Regions from separate parts of the Homo sapiens genome. Here regions 2 and 3 are each linked to region 1. The links are contacts of gene promoters, found by promoter capture Hi-C in blood cells and fetal thymus (Javierre and others, 2016). All regions are on one chromosome and are shown on one strand. The core of a region is centred on a gene start or on the middle of the fragment in contact, and the rest is flanking DNA. Distances in the headings are between cores, read along the strand shown. Region 1 holds the start of DEFB134 (defensin beta 134). Region 2 overlaps FAM167A-AS1 (FAM167A antisense RNA 1). Region 3 overlaps FAM167A-AS1 (FAM167A antisense RNA 1).

Region 1 (3,177 bases), core at 440-2,939:
AGCCCAAGGCAGGAACCTATCATTTCTACCTTAGGTTCCTACCTTGGTCTCAAGTGAGCCCCAGCTGGAAGTTCATACTAAAATTGACACAAGGGGTGCCTGGTCATATCATGTCCAATTTCTTAGCAACCAGCCAGTGAGGGCGTGGGTTCATGAAAAGCAGGTATGGGAGTATAAAGGTCATAAACAGTATAAAGAATTACTGGCTGAGGCTCCCAAAGAAGCCAGCAATCACTCTGAGAAAAAAAGACCTGGAAACCTCAACCTCAGAGAGGACATGCTCAGTGGGATACTGGCATTGCCCATGCAAAGAAAGTGTTGAATATGACTCAAGGAGAAATAATAAAGCAATATACTTTTATCTATGTTGATAAACAGCTGGAAGAGGCTTTAACCCAAGCAAAAATAATGTTGCTTACAAAGCCAAAGTTAAAAAACCCCAAGACCATTACAGTGCCAAATTCTTTTCCCCAGAACGGACTATTACTATCATTCTCCCACTATTGATAAGGAGCTCGTTCACTGACTAGGTCACCAACTACCAGCAATTCGTGATTTTACTTAAATATCAGAACAGGACAGCCTCTGAGTTTTGCTCTAAAAGGTAAAGAAGAATTTCAGCAACTGTCAGAGATCGTCTCTTGTTATCTAGACCTCCCCTGGCTCAGCGTCTGGTTCACTGTAGGTGCCACGAGTTGGGAGCTGACCTAGTTCATAGACTTTAGAGATAAAGAGGGGAGATGTGCGCATCATTTGAAAACAAGTATGTGGCTTACCAGCACACCAGCTTTTTCTTTTCATCCATATATTCCCCTAAGGCCACATGGTGCTCTGGGATTAGAAAATGGAGAAGTACAATATGCTCCACGCTAGGACTAGATGGCTCTTTCTTCTGCCTCCTGGGTTTGGTATTTCTTTAGGGTCATCATGCTACTCTTCTCATCTTCCTGATCTGTGGTTGTTCTGCAACTGCCATACTCTCAGCTGCAATTGAAATGTCCCTGTCTGACCCTGAGCCATACAGATTCAATATGCAGCCTTTCCAAATGACAATCCTAATAAACAGAAATGTATTCTAGCCAACAGTGGGAGATGCAGAAGGAAGCAGCTTCTGTATCCTCTGTGAAGAGATGGTCCTCTTTCCCATTACAAATTTTACAGCACCCATTCCTTTTTTTTTCATAGCACTTGTCACAATTGTTACTATATCAATTATTTGTGTCTCTGATTAGACTGTGAAATCCGAGTAGATTCCATGACTGTCTTATTTATCATTTTACACCAGTATTGGGCTGAAAGTCTAGCAGGCCATCAGTGCCAAAGGTATATTTGTTGAATAAATAAATGAACTCTAGATATTAGGTTTATACTTTAACTTTACAATATATAGTAGTTATTCCTTATTCATGGGGCTATGTTCCAAGACCCCCAGTAGATGCTTGAAACAGTCGATAATACTGAACTCTATATATACAGTGCTTTTTTTCTATACATGCAGACCTATGATAAAGTTAAATTTATAAATTTGGCACAGTAAGATTTTAATAACAATAACTAATAATAAAACAATTATAACAATATGCTATCATAACAATACTATAAAAGTTATGTGAATGTGAACTCTGTCTCCCCCAAAATATCTTACTGTGCTATGCTCACTCTTCTTCTTGTGCTGATGTAAGATGATATAATGCCTATGTGATGAGAGGAAGTGAGGAAAACGACATAGGCATTGTGACATAGCATTAGGCTATTGCTAATCTTCTGACCATAGCTCAGAAGGGGGATCATCTCCTTCGGGTGATGCTGGGTCACTGAGCCATGGTGATGTTAGTGGCTGGATCTCAGAAGCATATGATTTCAATAACTAATGGGCAGGTAGTGTTTACAGTGTGGATACACTGGACAAAGGGATGATTCACATTCTGGGTGTGTGGAGCTGCGTAGTGCAAGATTTTGTGTTACTCAGAACAGCATGCAATTTAAAACTTATGAATTGTTTATTTATGGAATTTTGTGTTTATTTATTTATTTATTTTGAGATGGAGGCTTGCTCTGTCACCCAGGCTGGAGTGCAGTGGCGTGATCTTGGCTCACTGCAACCTCTGCCTCCCAGGTTCAAGTGATTCTCCTGCCTCAGCCTCCTGAGTAGCTGAGATTACAGGCACCTGCCACCACACCTGGCTGATTTTAGTATTTTTAGTAGAGACGGGGTTTCACCATGTTGGCCAGGCTGGTCTCGAACCCCTGCCCTCAGGTGATCCACCCACCTTGGTCTCCCAAAGCGCTGGGATTACAGGCATGAGCCACTGCACCCAGCGTATTTAATATTTTGGACTGTGGTTGACTGTAAGTAACTAGAACTGTGGCTGGGTGGGGAACTACTGCAGATATATTCCTAACAGCTGGTATTTGGAGCACTTTTAGGCATCAAGGATTGTAGTATGTATTTTTTTTAATATTGCCTCACTTAATCTTACAAATGATCTCTTAACTAGACATTTTCACAATTCACATTTTCAAGATGTTGAAGCAGAGATTTGAGTAATTCTTCTAAAATCACACATCTGGGACTGATAAGTCTTACAGAGATTCTAGAACCCAAATTAATTAACCACTCTTCTATATTGTCTCCTGGGACAAAGGGGTTCTGAAATATAGCAAAAATTCTACTTTGAATCTAGTCTGGGCCAGCCAGGAAGAATTAGTAGATGCCAGGGCCTGGGGAGCTAGAACCTATGGTAAGGAAGTGACACTGAAAAAGCTAAAGAATCTTTCTTTCTTTCTCTCTCTCTTTCTTTTTCTTTCTTTCTTTCTCTCTCTCTTTCTTTTTCTTTCTCTTTCTTTCTTTCTTTCTTTCTTTCTTTCTTTCTTTCTTTCTTTCTTTCTTTCTTTCTTTCTCTCTCTCTCTCTCTTTCTTTTCTTTCTTTCTTTTCTTTCACAGACGTCTTGGGACGCAAAGGGCCAAGGCATCAGAAACACTTGGTACCAGCTTCCACAGCAACAATGAGAGGTAACCCCAGTGCTTCCACTACCAACAGGACATTACCACTTGCAGGCAGAGAAACAGACAAGAAAAATAGTGGATGCCACATATTAGGACTCGTCTGAGACATGATGCAAGACTTTTTAGAAAGAATTTGAGGTGAGATGAGGCTGGGCTCTCTGAAGTAGTTC
Region 2 (3,177 bases), core at 485-2,984, 600 kb before region 1:
AGAATCACAGATCACTATAAAACAATACCAAAATGACAAAAAATTGTAAAGACAAATACAGAAGGTTACAGAATTGTAAAAAATAAATCAGCTCCTTTATTATTGAGAAGACTCATTTTTCTTTTCTTCTTTTTTTTTTTTTTTTTTTTTTTTTTTTTTTTTTTTTTTTTTTTGAGACAGGATCTCATTTCATCACCTAGTCTGGAGTGCACTAGCATGATCGTGGCTCACTACAGCTTTGACCTCCTTGGGCTCAGCTGATCCTCCCCTCTCAGCCTCCTGAGTAACAGGGACTACAGGCACATACCACCACACCTGGCTATTTTTTTCTATTTTTTGTAGAGATGACGTTTTGCCATGTTGCCCAGGCTGGTCTTGAACTCCTGACCTCAAGCAATCCGCCCACCTTGGCCTCCCGAAGTGCTGAGATTACAGGCGTGAGCCACTGCACCTGGCCTTGCTTTTCTTAAGTAATCAAAGACCTGATAGAAAACAACGTGAAGCACAAGAAATCATTTTTGTAAAAAAATCTTTGTGTCCTAGTACAGTAACTTAAACGATAAAGAAAAATCTTCACATTCTCAGACTGATACAGTAAGAAAACTTGGCCATTTTGACAAAGAGGACGAAATTCTAGTTTTGCATCATCGTATTAGTAATATGGAAGCTAATTGTAAGAAAACCTTATAAATAAAATTAAGCTCATTTTAGCCAGCTTTGACCACATAACATTTTCCCCCAAAGATTCTTTTTCCACAACCCTTTTAAAATATTTTTAAAAATTGATCTTTATTTATCTTCCTGCATTTTTCTTTTTCTTATTCTGGAACAACTGCTCATCATAGTTTCGTACAGAATTAACTACTCCTTTTTCCATTAACAGAAAATACAGTTTCATGCCTTACAATTTTCCTTACCAAAAATACATCTTGCTTTCCTCGTGTATTTTGCATACAGGATTGTTTCCCTTATTATTTCTAGTAGTTTTAATTACATATATTAATTAGAATTTTAATCTTCAGCAATTGTAGTTTATCACATTCCATAGATTAAAGCCATAATTTCTAAAAATCATGTGCTTCTCCATAGTACAATTTTTCATGTCTATTAACAGATCCAAATTTTGTCTTCTCTATACCATATAAAAAACAAAATGCCAATGTATATAAACTTAAATTTATGCTTAGTAATTAATGTTTCAATGTTTTAAGTGACTTAGAAATGACTCAGATATGGCCAGGCACGGTGGCTCACACCTGTTATCCCAGCACTTTGGGAGGCCCAGGCGGGTGGATCATGAGGTCAGGAGTTTGAGACCACCCTGACCAACATGGTGAAACCCCGTGTCTACTAAAAGTACAAAAATTAGCTGGGTGTGGTAGCGCACACCTATAATCTCAGCTACTCAGGAGGCTGAGGCAGGAGAATCACTTGAACCCAGAAGGCAGAGGTTGTAGTGAGCCGAGATCGCATTATTGCACTCCAGCTTGGGCAACAGTGAGACTCAGTCTCGGGGGGAAAAAAAAAGAAAAAGAAATGACTCAGATATGTAATGAGTATTTATTACTTAATTTAATTTAGCATAGCTTTAAGGTTGCAAGTTACCAAAAAAGTTTTCTGAAACTATTTTTAAGTAGACCTGTTTTATAAAACATAATTATTATTGAAAAGTTCATGTATATACTTTTAGGTCACTTGTACATTATTTAATTCACGTGTTTTTAACAATTATTCTTGGATGTCTCATGGGCATTTTTTATAAGAACTTAAAGCCATCATCTTATTTCATTTTTGTTTACAAATCAGGTATCAAAAATATCACAGAGGCAAAGAACTAAAAAGCTAAACAATTCATTCTCTATCTATCTATCTATCTATCTATCTATCTATCTATCTATCTATCTATCTATGTTTTTACTTTCATGAATGATATGTGTCAAGCAATTTATTTTTACTGTGTGTTCTGCTCTTAGGTTGGGTTTTTAGTTTTATGTTTTTAAACGTCAAGCAGGGAAAACACAAACCTGTGTGGCCAGCAAACTCAGGGAAAAATGTGTATCTGAATTATATTTCACACTTACAATTCTGAAGATACCCCTACTTTTATTTTACCAATAATTTAAAAGCTAGCTTTATTTACCAAAGACTTAGCCAAGTCATGTGATTTTTTAAAAAAAAAATTTGGATGAGAGTCTATGTCTGAGAGTTTTAGGAATGCCTAATTTATCTGAGCACTCGTTTATCTCTAAGCCAATTTGAATAGAGCTCCTTTAAGGGTTTTATAAATTAATTTAGTAACACTATCCGGAGGTGGAAAAATATTAAATATACATAATATACAAATATACATACATAAACTTACAGACAAATACAGCTTTCATTCTAACATTTAGTCACAAGTCAGTAAAACATAGTAGTACAAACTCATTGATTTATTTCCAATTTATATTTTTGTCCGAATTGTGTTTCTGACAAAGATGGGAGAAGTTAAGTTTACCTGCTTACATGGCAAGAGCTTTTTTACCAACGTTTGTGGAAAAGACTTGAGATTTTTATTTGCCCAATTCCCAAATAGTTCCTTTAAAAAACATGACAGTCATTTCCCTGAAGTTTGTATTTCCAAATGATAGTTCTCAGGTTTTAGAGAAGACAGGATAGGGAATCATCTCAAAGGCACAGAAAAATAATGCAAGGGTTTTTTTTTTTTCTTCCAAAAAAGGAATTTGGGAGCGTATTTGCCTATTTTCAGAGGTTTTTCTTATAGAGGCTGTGGACTAAATTTTAGGCTAGTGACTGAGGAGATATTTAGCAGTTGTCTAAATGTTTCCAAAGTCCAAATGAGTGGACGAAACATCCATTTCTTGTTTCCCAGTAACCATTTCTCCTCTTTTCAGCCTCAGGTTTTTTTTTTTTTTTTTTTTTTTTTGGAGACGGAGTCTCGCTCTGTCGCCCAGGATGGAGTGCAGTGGTGCCATCTCAGCTCACTGCAAGCTCCGCCTCCCGAGTTCATGCCATTCTCCTGTCTCAGCCTCCCGAGTAGCTGGGACTACAGGAGGGTGTCACCGCGCCTGGCTAATTTTTTGTATTTTTAGTAGAGACGAGGTTTCACTGTGGTCTCGATCTCCTGACCTTGTGATCCGCCCGCCTTGGCCTCCCAAAGTGCTGGGATTACAGGCG
Region 3 (3,177 bases), core at 289-2,788, 580 kb before region 1:
AAAACAAACAAAAAGAGATGAGGTCTCTCTGTGTTACCCAGGCTGGTCTTGAACTGCTGGGCTCAAGCAATCCTTCCATGTCAGCCTCCCAAAGTTCTGGGATTACAGGCATGAGCCACCATGCCTAGCTAAAACACCTTTTTTCCCTTTTAATTTTTAAAAAATTGATGTATAATAATTGTACATATTTATGGGGTATATAGTGATGTTTCTGTGCATTCCGTGTCTAGTGATCAAATCAGGGTAATTAATATCCATCACGTCAAGCATGTATCCTCAAAGAAATGATAAATGTTCCAACGCATCTGAGGTTTCTCTTCCTTAATCAATTTCCTTTGGAGACCGCCTAGCTGTCTCCCTTGCTGTTTGCTTTGAGCCTGTGAACGGGGTACTTAAAAACAGCCCTGTCTGAAACCTTCAATCTGCTGAGCAGCTCCCATCAGATAGGGTCTGGTTACCACAGGCCTGTCTGCTCTGGTCACTGCCAACTTCCTCCTCTTCTGCCTGCCTCCTTCCCCAAGTCGTCTAGGCCACAGACTTCAGGCTTAGACATGGAGAAGGAGCCAGTGGGAAGTGCTTCTGGTCTTGTTGAGAAGTCAAAAGGGTGTGTGTAAACGGAGTTTACACCCTTTCCAAACATAAGAGAGACGAGATCTCTGGGAGGCCAAGGAAGCCACAGTTTGACGTCACCAGCCATGGGTCAGGGCACCTGGCCACGCTCAGCAGGGCACCAGCAGCTAATGTGGCAGCAGGCCGAGTCTCTGAATGAAGAAGCCACACCACATCTGAACTGTCGCTCCCCCTCTCCCCATACTCTGGTCTCCACCTGTTCAGTCTTGATCTCTCCTGGACTCACCCTAGCAACCCCCAGGTCACGTGGAGACCACTGGCCATGCACCTACCTCCAGCTCCGTTGGCTCTCCCGGCCCGTTTCCTCTCGTCGTCCTTCCCTCCTGACTCAGTCTAACACTAACATTGCTCCTTTGCAAAAAACATTCACTTTTGCTGTTTCCGTTCTCTGTCACCTGCTTGGCAAATCCTATCTCCCACTGTCTGCCTGGTCTTTGTCTGTATTGGAACTTCTAAATATTGCTGAAAAAATCAATCACTCCACCAGGCTTGCTGGACACACCCCACATTTATGACCACAGCCTCAAATGGGCAATCCCGCCACCAGACCAGACGGTCCATCTTCGCTTTCCTAATTAACTCACCCGTTCTCAGGTAATTATTTGAAAAATGTCTTTGCAAACCTCCAATATCCCACCTCCTCCGACTCACTTCCCTATTTCACAGACAAATAGGAGCGACCTCACGGGCTCCCTTCCTCTGTGCCACTGATTTGTTATTGAAAAGGGGTCCTGATCCAGACCCCAAGGGAGGGTTCTTGGATCTCGCACAAGAGAGAATTTGGGGTGAATCCACAGAGTAAAGTGAAAGCACATTTATGAAGAAAGAAAGAAAAGAATGGCTGCTCCACAGGCGGGGGCTGCTTGAATGGGCATATTTCTAGTTATTTCTTGATCATATGCTAAACAAGGGATAGATTATTCATGGATTTTCTGGGAAAGGGGTGGGGAAATCCTGGAATGGAACAGAGGGTTCCTGCCCTTTTTAGACCATGTAGGGTAACTTCTGGCCTTTGCCTGTGGCATTTGTAAACTGTCACGGGGCTGGTAGGCGTGTCTTTTAGCAGCTAATGCATTATAATTAGCAAATAATAAGCAGTGAGGTCGACCAGAGGTCACTTTCATTGCCTTCTTGGTTTTGGTGGGTCTTGGCTGGCTTCTTCACCACATCCTGTTTTATCTACGGGGGCTTTGTGACCTGTGTCTTGTGCCGACCTCCGATCTCATCCTGTGGCTAAGAATGCCTAACTTCCTGGGGATGCAGCCCAGCAGGTCTCAGCCTCATTTCCCCCAGCCTGTTTGAGCCGCAGTCGCCCTGGTTCCAATGTCCCTGACAGTAACGGGCACCCCTTTAGCTGCACCCTGCCTTCTTGCCTCAAGGAGGAAGTGCCTGGTCCTGTTCTCTGAGCCGGGTCTCCACTCGCACTCTGCCGGGGGTTCTCTCCCCTCCTCCAGAGCTGCAAGTGCTGTGGCTGCCCTCTTTCCTGTGCACATCGTCTCTCTTTCAGCAGGCACTGACCTATCTCACATGACAACACCTTCATTATATTATACGACGTTATGAGAAAACCACAAGCCACTTTCTGGACCTTATCTATGTCCTTGTCCAGCTCCTTGTCTCTGCTCCCTTTATGGCACATGGATGCAGCAAGGTGGCCTTTATCTCCTGCCTCCTCCTCAACCCTGGCCTTACCACTGAGCTGAGATGGCCATCTCCCCCATCACTGCCATCACGGTGGAGGAGGGGCTCCCTCTTGCTGAAGCCAGCATCCACCTCTCTGTCCTCTTCTTCCTTGATGTCTTAGCAGCGCTGGTGTAGACGACTCTCTCCTTCAAACAGTTTCTTCCTGAAGGCTGCCGGATGCCCTGTCCAGCTGCTTTTCCTTCTACCTTACTAGCTGGATTTTTTGTTTTGCTTTGTTTTTAGTTTTCTTTTTGTTTGTTTTTTGAGACAAGGTCTCCTTCTGTTGTCCAGGCTGGAAGTGCGGTGGAGCAATCTCAGCTCACTGCAGCCTTAACCTCCTGGGCTCAGGTGATCCTGCCACCTTAGCCTCCCGAGTAGCTTGGTCTACAGCTACCTTTTTTTCCTAAGTACCCTTTGACCATGCCTCTTTCTCTGTCAGATATTTAAATGTCAGGGTACCCAGACTGCATGTTCACTCTTCCACATAGACTCGAAAGCAAGCTAACTCACAGAGGCAGAGAGCAGAATAGGGGACTTGAGGCTGGGAGCAGGGCGTGGGGATGTGCTGGTCCAAGGGTTCAGGGTTTCAGTTAGGCAGGAGGAATAAATAATGAGCATTTGAGGTGATGGATATGTTAGTTAGCTTGTTTCAATCATTCCACATTGTACATATAGCAACATTTTGTACATCATAAATATATACAATTAGAATTTGTCAATATCCAGTGAAAGTAAATAAATGAATAAACATACACTGGAGTCCCGAGGCTGCCGTGCGCAGCCCTCTTCTCTCCTACACTCCTTTCCTGAGTTTACCCAGGTAGAGGTTTTTTTTTTTCTTTTTCTTTTTTTTTTTTTTTTTGA

The links. The method cuts DNA at HindIII sites, captures the fragments that hold promoters and counts their contacts. A CHiCAGO score of 5 or more calls a contact.
Region 2: a fragment that was not itself captured here is called in contact with the fragment with the promoter of DEFB134 in region 1 in 7 of 17 cell types (M2 macrophages, total B cells, naive B cells and 4 more); the score reaches 9.3 in M2 macrophages.
Region 3: a contact is called between a fragment that was not itself captured here and the fragment with the promoter of DEFB134 in region 1, in 1 of 17 cell types (monocytes). The highest score is 5.9, in monocytes.

The regions. Positions count from the first base shown.
Region 1 is chr8:11,999,063-12,002,239 of GRCh38, forward strand. It overlaps DEFB134 (defensin beta 134), which reads right to left and starts at 1,690. Exons shown (of 3, transcript NM_001302695.2): 1 at 1,646-1,690. LOC105379245 (a long non-coding RNA gene) reads left to right here and starts at 3,071. Exons shown (of 3, transcript XR_001745644.2): 1 at 3,071-3,145. It also overlaps the pseudogene OR7E160P and the pseudogene LOC100421446. The HindIII fragment of the contact is 7,293 bases long and covers 1-3,177 here.
Region 2 is chr8:11,395,890-11,399,066 of GRCh38, forward strand. The region is part of intron 2 of FAM167A-AS1 (FAM167A antisense RNA 1); the gene reads left to right. Among named protein-coding and RNA genes, the nearest start is that of FAM167A-AS1, 29 kb to the left of the region's middle. The HindIII fragment of the contact is 5,030 bases long and covers 1-3,177 here.
Region 3 is chr8:11,416,255-11,419,431 of GRCh38, forward strand. The region is part of intron 3 of FAM167A-AS1 (FAM167A antisense RNA 1); the gene reads left to right. Among named protein-coding and RNA genes, the nearest start is that of FAM167A, 49 kb to the right of the region's middle. RefSeq lists enhancers at 236-737, 585-814, 738-1,237, 1,846-1,915. The HindIII fragment of the contact is 5,187 bases long and covers 1-3,177 here.